Linked DNA regions of Homo sapiens: region 1 is linked to region 2. The links are contacts of gene promoters, found by promoter capture Hi-C in blood cells and fetal thymus (Javierre and others, 2016). All regions are on one chromosome and are shown on one strand. The core of a region is centred on a gene start or on the middle of the fragment in contact, and the rest is flanking DNA. Distances in the headings are between cores, read along the strand shown.

What was found. The method cuts DNA at HindIII sites, captures the fragments that hold promoters and counts their contacts. A CHiCAGO score of 5 or more calls a contact.
Region 1: the fragment with the promoter of FHAD1 here is called in contact with the fragment with the promoter of CELA2A in region 2 in 3 of 17 cell types (erythroblasts, total CD8 T cells and total B cells); the score reaches 5.5 in erythroblasts.

What each region holds. Positions count from the first base shown.
Region 1 is chr1:15,243,409-15,248,992 of GRCh38, forward strand. It overlaps FHAD1 (forkhead associated phosphopeptide binding domain 1), which reads left to right and starts at 3,815. Exons shown (of 34, transcript NM_001391957.1): 1 at 3,815-3,987. RefSeq lists silencers at 3,650-3,823, 3,841-4,080. The HindIII fragment of the contact is 5,643 bases long and covers 2,370-5,584 here.
Region 2 is chr1:15,453,220-15,458,816 of GRCh38, forward strand. CELA2A (chymotrypsin like elastase 2A) reads left to right here and starts at 3,513. Exons shown (of 8, transcript NM_033440.3): 1 at 3,513-3,574; 2 at 3,867-3,955. The coding sequence starts at 3,535. The HindIII fragment of the contact is 8,750 bases long and covers 16-5,597 here.

The DNA.
Region 1 (5,584 bases), core at 2,565-5,064, 210 kb before region 2:
TTGTTCTTGCTCTTTCTCTGGCTCTCTTTCATGCCATAGAGGCTGAGGAAGCCTCCACACCTCTCCTGGCCGCGGCTGGGGCCTGAAGCCAGCATTCATTTCATGTTGGAATGCAAGGGCAGCAGGAGAAACATCACACAGTTCTCTGAGGATGGAGCACAGGGTTAGGCTCTCCCCAGGCAAGAACAGCCCAGAGAAGGTGGCTGGGAAGGAATGAGATTTTACGGGGGCAGAAGTTCTGCAGGAACGAAGCCTAGTGCCCAATGTCAGCAGGTAATGTGGGTGGCAGGCCTAAGCTGCCTCCTCTGGGCTTATGCCCCCTTCACTCCCTGCCCTGGGCACTGCCTGAACCTTTGGACAGACAAGAGTGCAGGCTGCTCAGAAGTGAGAGAAAGCAGTTGTGAGTAAGTGGCATCTTGTGATTGTGACAGCTGTCACCTGTAGTTCCCCAGGGGAAATACCTTCCTTGTCACATTCATCTCGATTCAAATCCTGCCAGATTTTCTAGCTGTGTGACTTTAGGCAGATTTCTCCCTGTCTCTGAGCCTTATTTCCTACAATATGGGCTTCGTCGTCACCAAGAGTTCAATAAAAGGTTAACTGTAGGCACTGCCAAGAAGCACAAGTAATCTAGAAACATCTATTTTTTTTTTTCAGGGACAGTATTTTTAATGCCGCATCACTGTTTAATTGCAATGTACAACTCTCTTACTCAGCCCAGGAAATTATATCATAAAACCCTAAGTTATTGGGTATTTGATTTTCTGTTTTTGAAATGAAAATGGATGATACGGAATTGGGTTTCAAGAACTTTGCACACCCTTGAGATAACAGTGGCATCCTGAGGGACAGAGGATCCAATTAAGATTTGGCAACTTCGGCTCCACTGATTCTGAGTGTCAGCTTTGCTCTCAGTTTAGGATTTTTTGTTTTTCATTGAGATATCAGCTAACAGCAACAGATGATCTCTCAAAGCCTGGTGAGGGGCATGGGCTGTTCCAGCTCATGGCCAGCCTGGGTTTCACTGGGGTCTGTCTGATAGCAAGTTTGTGTCCTGGGTTCATGTTAATGACAAGAGTTTGACCAAAGACAAGCATGGAGGGGTGGTGGTAGGGATGGAGGTGGTGTTCAGGCCTGGGCAGGGGACTAGAGAAGCCGACATCCTGGGGCGAGGACAGGTCAGCCCAGCAGTCCTCAGAGGACAGGAGGCCGGGCTTCAGAAGGGTGGCAGGGGCTTCCCCCTGCATATTTATTCATTCAGACATTGTTCTAGGGACTGGTGGCACAGCAGCAAACAAAACATGAAAAAAGAAATTCCTGCTTTCATGGAGTTTAGATTCTACCAGGGGTCAGGGAGGGAGACACAATAAATAACATAAATAAATAAAGAAATAGTATGTGAGTTGATGATAAGTGATGTATTAGTCCATTTGTGTTGCTATCAAGTAATACCTGAGGCTGTGTCATTTATCCAGAAAAGAGGTTTATTTGGCTCACAGTTCTGCAGGTTGTACAAGAAGCATGGTGCCAGCATCTGCCTCTGGTGAGGGTCTCAGGCTGCTTCCACTCCTGGCAGAAAGTAGCGCCTGCATGTGCAGAGATCACATGATGAGAGAGGAAGTGAGAGTGAGCGAGGGGGAGGTGCCAGGCTCTTTCTAACAATCAGCTCTTTAGGAAACTGATAGAGTGAGAACTCATGCACCCTACAGGAACAGCACCAAGCCATCCATGAGGGATTCGCCCGCATGATCCAAGCACCTCCCGCCAGGCCCCACCTCCAACACTGAGGAGCAAATTTCAACATGAGATTTGGAGGGGTCAAATATTCTAACTATAGCAAGTGGCAAAAAGAAGGGAAGAGGGATAGAGTGTTGAGGTTTTTATTTTGTTTGGATGTGCTTTTGTTGTTCTTATTTTTATTTGCTTTTGTTGTTCTTATTTTTATTTGCTTTTGCTGTTCTTATTGTTTTTATTTGCTCTTTTTTGTTGTTTATTAGATTTCATGGTGGTTGTTTCATTGTTTCAAAAAACCAATTTTAGAAAAGATGATATGTGAGTAAAAAGCTAAAGTAAAGAAGGCAAAGGAGACTCTTGAGGGGAAGTGCATTCCAGGCAGAGGAATGGGCAAGAGCAAAGGCTCTGAGGCAGAAACGTGTGGGAAGCTGAGCTTGACCCTCTCTGTTCCTGTGAAGCCATCACTTGGGTCCCAGCCCTTGTGGTCCCTCCTAACATTTTACGCCTAGAATCTTTCTGGTTGTAGGAAACTGATCCAGGCAGAACCTTCCAGACTGAGGGCCTGGAAGAGATTTGTAGGGACAGGCTCCGGGAGAGGTCTCTGCAGTTCAGCTGCATAAATCAGGGTTTTGTCAAGCTTGTTGCAAATGCACATTCCTGGATTATGTCCCAGGCCTGCTAAATCAGAATCTCTGGGGTCTGTGCCCAGAAGTCCGCATTTCTAAAAGCCTCCAGGCACGTTTGAGCATCTTCACTGTATATTCCACCACAAATCGATGTCCATGATTTCTCTCTCAGATCCTCTTCCTATTGACTAGGTGTATTAGTCTGTTCTCACACTGCTATAAAGTAATTCCTTGAGACTGAATAATTTACAAAGAAAAGAAGTTTAATTGACTCACAGTTCTGCACTGCTAGGGAGGCCTCAGGAAACTTACAGTTATGGCGGAAGGCCAAGGGGAAGCAAGGAAGCTAGCATGTTGTAACATGGTGTAGCAGGAGAGAGAGAGAGCAAAGGGGGAAGTGCCACACTTTTAAACCATCAGATCTCATGAGAACTCACTCGCTATCATGAGAAAAGCAAGCGGGAAGTCTGCCCCCATGATTCAATCACCTCCCACCAGGCCCCTCTTCCAACACGTGGGGAGTGCAATTCGAGATGAAATTTGGGTGGGGACACACAGCCAAACCGTATCACTAGGGTAGAATGTGCCATAGTTCATCTCTCTTAGAAAAACGTTTAGAGTTTTTCTTGAGGTGTCTGGTCAGCCATTTCCTGCCAGTGAAAGGAATCACTCTCCAGGTAGAGTCAGCAGGAGATAGGATTTCCTGCTGGAGATAGTGGCGGGAGATAGGATTTGCACATCTGCTCAACACACTCCATCCCGCGAGTCCTGTGCCGGCTGACAAGCGGTTTCTTAAGGACAGTAACTGTTCCAGGTGTATTCTGGGATCAGCGTGTGACACTCATAGGACTCAAAAGATGTTTGCAGAGATAGAGAAAGGGCAAAAGAATGAATAAATGTCACTCTTAACAGGGAGGAGCAGAGGCAGCAGGATTGTGAGTTTGGAAATATTTTTTCCCCAGCACATGGAAGAAATCCTCATTCTTTCAAAATTTTTCATTCCACCCCATCCCTTTCCCAATCCCCACCCCACTCCCAGAGATCCCCTCTTCTTACTCTTTCTATTTTCTGGCCTGTAACGGAAAGGACTAGAGATTTGGGTAGGGCAGGGGGCATACTAACCTCCAAGGGTCTCATGAGTTCAGCTCCATCAATCTCCTACCTCTCCCTATCGCCCCCGACCCTCCCTCAACGCATCCAGCTTACAGTGAGGGGTAATGGAAAGGATTCTTGAATCAAATCTCCTCCCTGCTCCTTCCTCGCTGTAAAACCTTGGGCCATTTCTGTGACCTCTGAGCCTCCGCTTTCCTATCTGTGAAATGGGGCAGGCTCGTGGGGCCTGGAGCATTCAGCAGGCGGTAACCCAGTGGGCGTTCCCTGCACGGTGCCACGCCCCCTCTGCCGCGCAGGCCACGCCCTCATCTATTAGGCTGGACCCCGCGGCGCCTGGCGGCGTTGCCATGGCAACGCGCGTACACAGGCCGGCCGGGCGGGCGGGGTGCCGGGTGCGAGCTGGAGACTCCGCGGGAGCGCGGCCGGGAGGCTTCGCCCCGGAGCTGGCCCGACGCCTCCCGAGCTGGCAGGGCTCTCGGCGGAGGTCGGAGCGTGGGCTTCCTCCTCCCGCCAGGTGAGTGCGGCGCGGGAAGGGGTGGCGGGCCGAGACCGGGGACCGGAAGGGGCGGCCCAGCGAGGACTAGCCCTGGCAGGAGGAGGGGTGGCTCCCCGGCCCCATCCTCCTGGATCCAGGCTCCGGTCCCCAGGAGCACCCCAGTAGCTACCCCAACACCAGCCCCTCCTTTCCAGATGCAGGCCCCACCCCGCCCGCGGAGGAAGCCCCCGGGAGCCTTAGACCCTCCTTGGCACCAGCCATGCCACTCTGGGAAGTCCTGGGGGTTACAGCTGGGATTAGGAGGGGCATCCCTGCTGCCCCTGACTTACGAACGACACCCACCCGGCGGTCAGAGAGACTCCCCCCTTGCCTAACCTCTCCCTTCCCAAATACAACACTGAGGAATTTCTAGGGCTCCCAGGCCACTTAAGATCTGGTAACCCCTCAACAGAAATTTTGCTTCTCTATCTCACTTGTGACCTATAAGCAGGGAGTGCAGATGCCTGAAGCTCTTTTGCTCTTTTGCATGGTCGGTGCCCTGTGTCTTAGAACTAATTTACAGAGTTTAACGCATCTAATCACTTTCTACAGTGTTTTCAGGTAGGAAAGTGACTGCACAGGGCAAGATTAAAGTGGGGAAATAGGGCCCAACCCATTCAGCTAAAGAAATAGACTTTTTTTTTTTTTTCCAGAATGTCATCTAGGATAAATACTGAAGGGGAAAATGAAAGGTAGTTACTGTCAGAGGTTCTTAGGCTACCCTGACTTACTTTTAAGCATTGTTTTGTACTTTCATTCATTCATGATTTACTGAGCACCACTATGTGTCAGGCATGGCAGCGCTGGGGGCCAGAGGGGAGTAATGAACAGACTGTGAGGAAATGCAAAGGGTCTGAGATTTTTACACTACTTGCAAGCTAAGTTAGCCTGCCACTGCTTAATGATGCTAGCAGAAGACCAGAGACTCCAGGACCAGAGACAAAGGATGTTATTACTCACAGCACAGCAGGCACTGTGAGCTCATGTTTGCGTTGGTTCCCCTTGCCCTGCAAGTACCCCGGGGTGATGCAGGACAGCTCAGGTGGATGCTGTGCACACTGCGAGTCTGTTTCCCAGCTAAGGAACCCCAAGCTCAGGAAACTCCAGTCTTTTAAAAGGGGCTGCTAGCCAGTGCCCAACCTTTGCCCTGGAAGGAGATGACCTTTTTTTTTTTTTTTTAATTGAGACAGAGTCTTGCTCTGTCTCCCAAGCTAGATAGAGTGCAGTGGCACAATCTCAGCTCACTGCAACCTCTGCTGCACGGTTTCAAGTGATTCTCCTGCCTCAGACTTCCGATTAGCTGGGACTACAGGTGCAAGCCACCATGCCCGGCTAATTTTTTTGTGTTTTTAGTAGAGACAGGGTTTCGCCATGTTGGCCAGGCTGGTCTCAAACTCCTGACCTCAGGTGATCCGTCCACCTGGGCCTCCCAAAGTGCTAGGATTACAGGCATGAGCCACCGTGCCCAGCCAGAGATGACATTTTTATCATAAATCTGCACTCTGCCCTGGATAGGGACACTATCCCTATCCTCTCAGGATATTTGCCCTACAGATGTCCTTGGAAGATTGTCTGG
Region 2 (5,597 bases), core at 2,263-4,762:
GCAAAATTCAAATTAAGCTTTCAGATGAAGAATGAGACTTCCAAGACATTTTGCTATTGTTAGTGCTGCGTGCTAGACCCCAGATCATCACTTTACTGCAAACTAGAGCCTGCAAACCAAATCTGTTTTGTAAATAAAGTTTTATTGGAACATGGCTATGCCCATATGGCTGCTTTTGCACTGCAACGGCCGAGTTGACTAGTTGTGACAGAGACCATATGGTCTGCAAGTCTGAAATATTTAGTATCTGGCCCTTTACACAGAAAGTTTGCCAGCCGCTAAACTACTTGGATTCTTTGATGAAAAGGTTTCAAGAATTCTGTGCTGCTCTAATATCGGAGGCCCGCAGGTCTAAGGAATTAAGAGTAAATGTTTATTGCACAGTTACTATTCTGAGTGCTTTCAGTGAATAAACTGTTGTTTGATTCTAACAATCCTAAGACATAAATGGTATTGTTATTGCTTCTCTTTGATAGGTGAGAAACTCAAGGAATAGAGTGAAATGTACCCTAGCCCAGTGCCTCTCAAATGTTAATATGCAGAGGAACAAAATCATCTGGGGATCCTATTAAACCACAGACACCGAAGATGGGAAATTCTGCATTTCTAACCAGCGACTGAGCTGTGCTGATGCTGCTGGCCCAGGCCACACTCCGTAGAGAGGAGCCAAACCACAGACTCACTACACAGAGGCACTGGGGGTCTTAAGCCCAGGCCCCCAGCCCCTAAGCCACGTGGCTCCTCAGAGTAGTTGTTCTGAATGAGTCACAAACCCCGTGAGAATTTCGCATCTGGCCAGGCACGGGGGCTTACGCATGTAATCTCAGATCACCTGGGGTCAGGAGTTCGAGACCAGCCTAGCCAACATGATGAAACCCCGTCTCTACTAAAATTACAAAAAATTAGCCGGGCATGGTGGCGGGCACCTGTAATCCCAGGAACTCAGGAGGCAAAGGCAGGAGAATCGCTTGAACCTCCTGATGGAGGTTGCTGTGAGCCGAGATGGCGCCACTGCATTCCAGCTTGGGTGGCAGAGCGAGACTCTGTCTCAAAAAAACAAACAAAAAACAAAGCAAAACAAAAAATCCTGACAGCAATGTGATGGAACAGACCAAGCATCTGTTCCTCTCCCTGTTTGTAGATAGGCACCCCGGGCCAGAAAGCCTGTGGGATTGGCCCAAGGTCACACAGCAAATTCACAGCAGGTGTTTGTTCAGTGGCCTCATACAGGACAAACTTTATTTTTATATTAAAACAAACAAAGATACAGAGCAGAACGCCAAATTCACATGAACCTTTAAGATAAAATATGAGACTTAAGAAATAGTTGGTTGCTGTAGTGACTCATACAGACCACAAATGAGTCCAAACTGTTACAGGGATTATGGGATGGAGTTGGGACTGGAATCTACATCTTCTGACATCCAGTCCCATGGGATGCTGCCCCCCACCCAATCTTTCTCACCTTTGCACCATCCTAGGGAGATTGCAGAATTCTTTCCCACCCATTTTCTTACCCGTACAACAATCCTGCAATCCAGGCCTGGATGGTTATCTAGGAAAGTAAGGCCCAGAAGATAAGTGGCTTGTCCAGACCACCACACTCAAAATTGATGGATCAAAGACTTGAACTCGGCTGGGCGCGGTGGTTCATGCCTGTAATCCCAGCACTTTGGGAGGCCGAGGCGGACGAACACGAGGTGAGGAGTTCAAGACCAGCCTGGCCAATATGGTGAAACCCCGTCTCTACTAAAAATACAAAAATAAGTCGGGTGTGGTGGCCGGTGCCTGTAGTCCCAGCTACTAGGGAGGCTGAGGCAGAAGAATCACTTGAACTTGAGAAGCAGAGGTAGCAGTGAGCCGAGATCGCGCCACTACGCCCTAGCCTGAGTGACAGAGCGAGACTCCGTCTCAAAAAAAAAAAAAAAAAAAAAAAAAAAAAAAAAAAAAAAACACTTGATATCAAGTCTTAAGAGTGTGGAGCTGGTCTTTTTTTTTTTTTTTTTTGAGATGGAGTCTTGCTCTGTTGCCCAAACTAAAGTGCAGTGGTGCGATCTCAGCTCACTGCAACCTCCACCTCCAAGGTTCGAGAGGTTATCCTGCCTCAGCCTCCTGAGTAGCTGGGACTACAGGCATGCAGCCCCACACGCTACTAATTTTTGTATTTTTAGTAGAGACGGGGTTTCACCATGTTGGCCAGGCTGGTCTTGAACTCCTGGCCTCAGGTGGTCTGCCCGCATCAGCCTCCCAAAGTTCTGGGATTATAGGAGTGAGCCACCGTGCCCGGCCGTAAAGTGCATTTTCATCCACCAGATGAAGCCCTCCTCTGCCAGCGTTCTGCTTCCCCCCATCATTAGAGTGGCCAGATCCTAATTGTGCATGTCGGCCTTGCCTTCTGCTACATGTGCACCTTCCCCGCATTATGCAAATTCTGCTACATGTGCACCTTCCCCACATTATACAAATCCTTACCACAATGTTGTGAAACAATACTGGGCATGGGTTTCTCTCCCTGTTTCACAGATGGGTCTAGAGACTTACATGACTCAGCCAAGGTCACATTGCAACCCCTGGTATGGCCTAGAACAGGCTTTCTCAGTCTCAGCACCATTGACATTTGGGGCAGGGCGAGTCCTATTGCCCAGTGCATTGTCGGGTGTTTAGCAGCGTCTCTGCTCTCTGCTCCCTGCCCACTGGATGCCAATTTACATCAACCCCAGCCATGACAACCAAAATTCTCTCCAGATGTTGTCAAACGTCTCCTGGTGGGCTGAACCAGCCCCATTGAGAAATACTGCCTTAGAATGCTGTGGGCTCAGCATGCCACCTTAATCTTTTCATTGAAAACACAACTCCTGGCCGGGCATGGTGGCTCAGCCTGTAATCCTAGCACTTTGGGAGGCCGAGGCGAGCAGATCACTTGAGGCCAGGAGTTCGACACCAGCCTGGCCAACATGATGAGACCCCCCGTCTCTACTAAAAATACAAAAATTAGCCAGCAATGGTGGCACACACCTGTAATCCCAACTACTAGGGAGGCTGAAGCAGGGGAATTGCTTGAACCCAGGAGGCAGAGGTTGCAGTGAGCTGAGATCACGCCACTTCATTCCAGCCTGGGTGACAGAGCAAGACTCCATCTCAGAAAGAAAAAAGAAAGAAAGAAAGAAAGAAAACACAACTCCTCTCCTCAGTCTTACCCAGGGAGGGGAACAAAAACAAACAAACAAAAAAAAAAACAACTCCGAGCACCAACAATTAGTATTTTTCTTCCTTCCCTAACACACAACATAATCTCTTCAAAACAGATGGAACCCATATTCCAATATCTACCTTTGGCATCTTTTTCAAAGTATTTCTAGGGTGACATTTGGGAGGAAATGGGAAAAAAAAAATATTTGGACACAGCTCTTTTTTCCACTGGGCTTTGAGAAAACCCCATCTTGCGTGCTCTTACTGTATCTCTCACTGATAAGTCCGCTCATAAAACCAGGGCCTTATCCAGGGCCACGCTTACAGAACTCCCACGGACACACCATGATAAGGACGCTGCTGCTGTCCACTTTGGTGGCTGGAGGTAAGTCCTGTTACCCAGAGGCACTGGTTTCCCATGCCCTGGTGGGGCTGGAAATGGGATCTTCCTGTCCTCCCCTCTCGCCCCCACCCAACCCCTACTGCATTCAGACCTATAATCATAAGAACATTGGAATGGAGTTTCAAAGAATTGGAGCAAAGAGCAGGATTCTATGACCTCTTGGGATCCTTCTAGAACAAGGGTTTTCTATTTGGGGGGTCAGAATGCGCAGCAAGTGTAGTTTACATTGTGTGGGTCGCTGCTTCCTGACTCAAGACCCTTTCTCTTTTCACAGCCCTCAGTTGTGGGGACCCCACTTACCCACCTTATGTGACTAGGGTGGTTGGCGGTGAAGAAGCGAGGCCCAACAGCTGGCCCTGGCAGGTGAGTTGACCACACTGTACTTCTCCCCGTCCCTGCCCCACTCCCTTTACATCTCCCCTTTGCCCTTCCACCATGGCGTCTATTGTGCTGGCAAAGTGAGTATTGATGGGACTCAGAGAGCAGCACAGGCAACTTTAGCAATAAGATATATTTCCGGCTGGGCGCAGTGGCTCATGCCTGTTATCCCAGCACTGTGGGAGGCTGTGGTGGGCAGATCACCTGAAGTCAGGAGTTTGAGACCAGCCTGGCCAACATGGTGAAACCTGCCTCTACTAATAATACACAAGTAGCCAGGTGTGGTGGCACACGCCTGTAATCCCAGCAACTGGGGAGGCTTAGGCAGGAGGATCGCTTGAACCCAGGAGGCAGAGGTTGCAGTGAGCTGAAATTGCACCACTGTACTCCAGCCTGGGCAACAAAGCAAGACTCTGTCTCAAAAAAAAAAAAAAAGATACATTTCTGTGGCCTTGGCCAACCTTGGGAGTGGAGGGAGAGGTGCCTCCTCCAGCTGCAGTAAGGAGCTGTCCCCTCCCCACTGCCCATAGGCAGCAAATATAGTATTACTCTATTAACCAATCAGAGGCTTGTTTACAAATGTACCATCAGTCTAGGAACCATTCAAGACTACCTATGCAAACATTCCTTGCTTTAAGGAACCAATCAGTGCTATTTGCGCAGATTAATCTTTAACCACAGGCAAATCAATGTTACCAATGAAAAAAATGTTTTCTTAAGTTGATATAATCATAGTGGTATCAAGACTAAACTGCCAAGTGGGGCACAGGTGTAAATTACTCAGACGTGTTAATGGTGGGGATTTTAAGAGAAATGTGTAAAGTTTACATTGACATAAACAAATATAGTGAAATCTCATTTATCTGATGTAATTGGGACCGAGTAATTGAAAAGTTGGTTATAAAGAAATTATTTTAAATCATATATATATAGTAAAGATTTTATCTTAGACTATGTAAACAATTTTTTGAGTTCTTAACTGTCTTTTTCATATAAGCCATGCCCCATATCTTATCTACAAACCCGTTTCTTTAAAGCAGAGCAGTAACTTTGAGACGTTCACAAAGCAATCTGAGTTATGAGCCCATCCAATCTTTCCATTTTCTCACAGACACTACTTCAAGAGCAATTTTTTAAGAGTCATGGTGATCCAGTCTCTTCCAAGCATTTAACTTTGTTTCCATATAAATAACGACTCTCTTTCTGAACTCATATTTCATTGGTTACATGTTTAATCAAATTTCATTATTACAAGCATAATTGATATAAACTGCTTTGGGAGCAAACCCAGCTGAATCAGGATGAGTTTCTACCTTAAGTAGGAGGAGCAACTAGCAGCCCACTAGCCTTGAGCATTCAGAGTGACCCATGCAGCAGTCACTGTGTTTAGAGAGGCCAGCGTTCATTCATCTGCTCCTTGATTAAGAGACTGTCAATGATAGGCCAGGCGTGGTGGCTCATGCCTGTAATCCCAGCACTTTGGCAGGCCGAGGCAGGTGGATCACCTGAGGTCAGGAGTTTGAGACCAGCCTGGCCAACATGGTGAAACTCTGCCTCTACTAAAAATACAAAAATTAGCCAGGCATGGTGGCGGGCACCTGTAGTCCCAGCTACTTGGGAGGCTGAG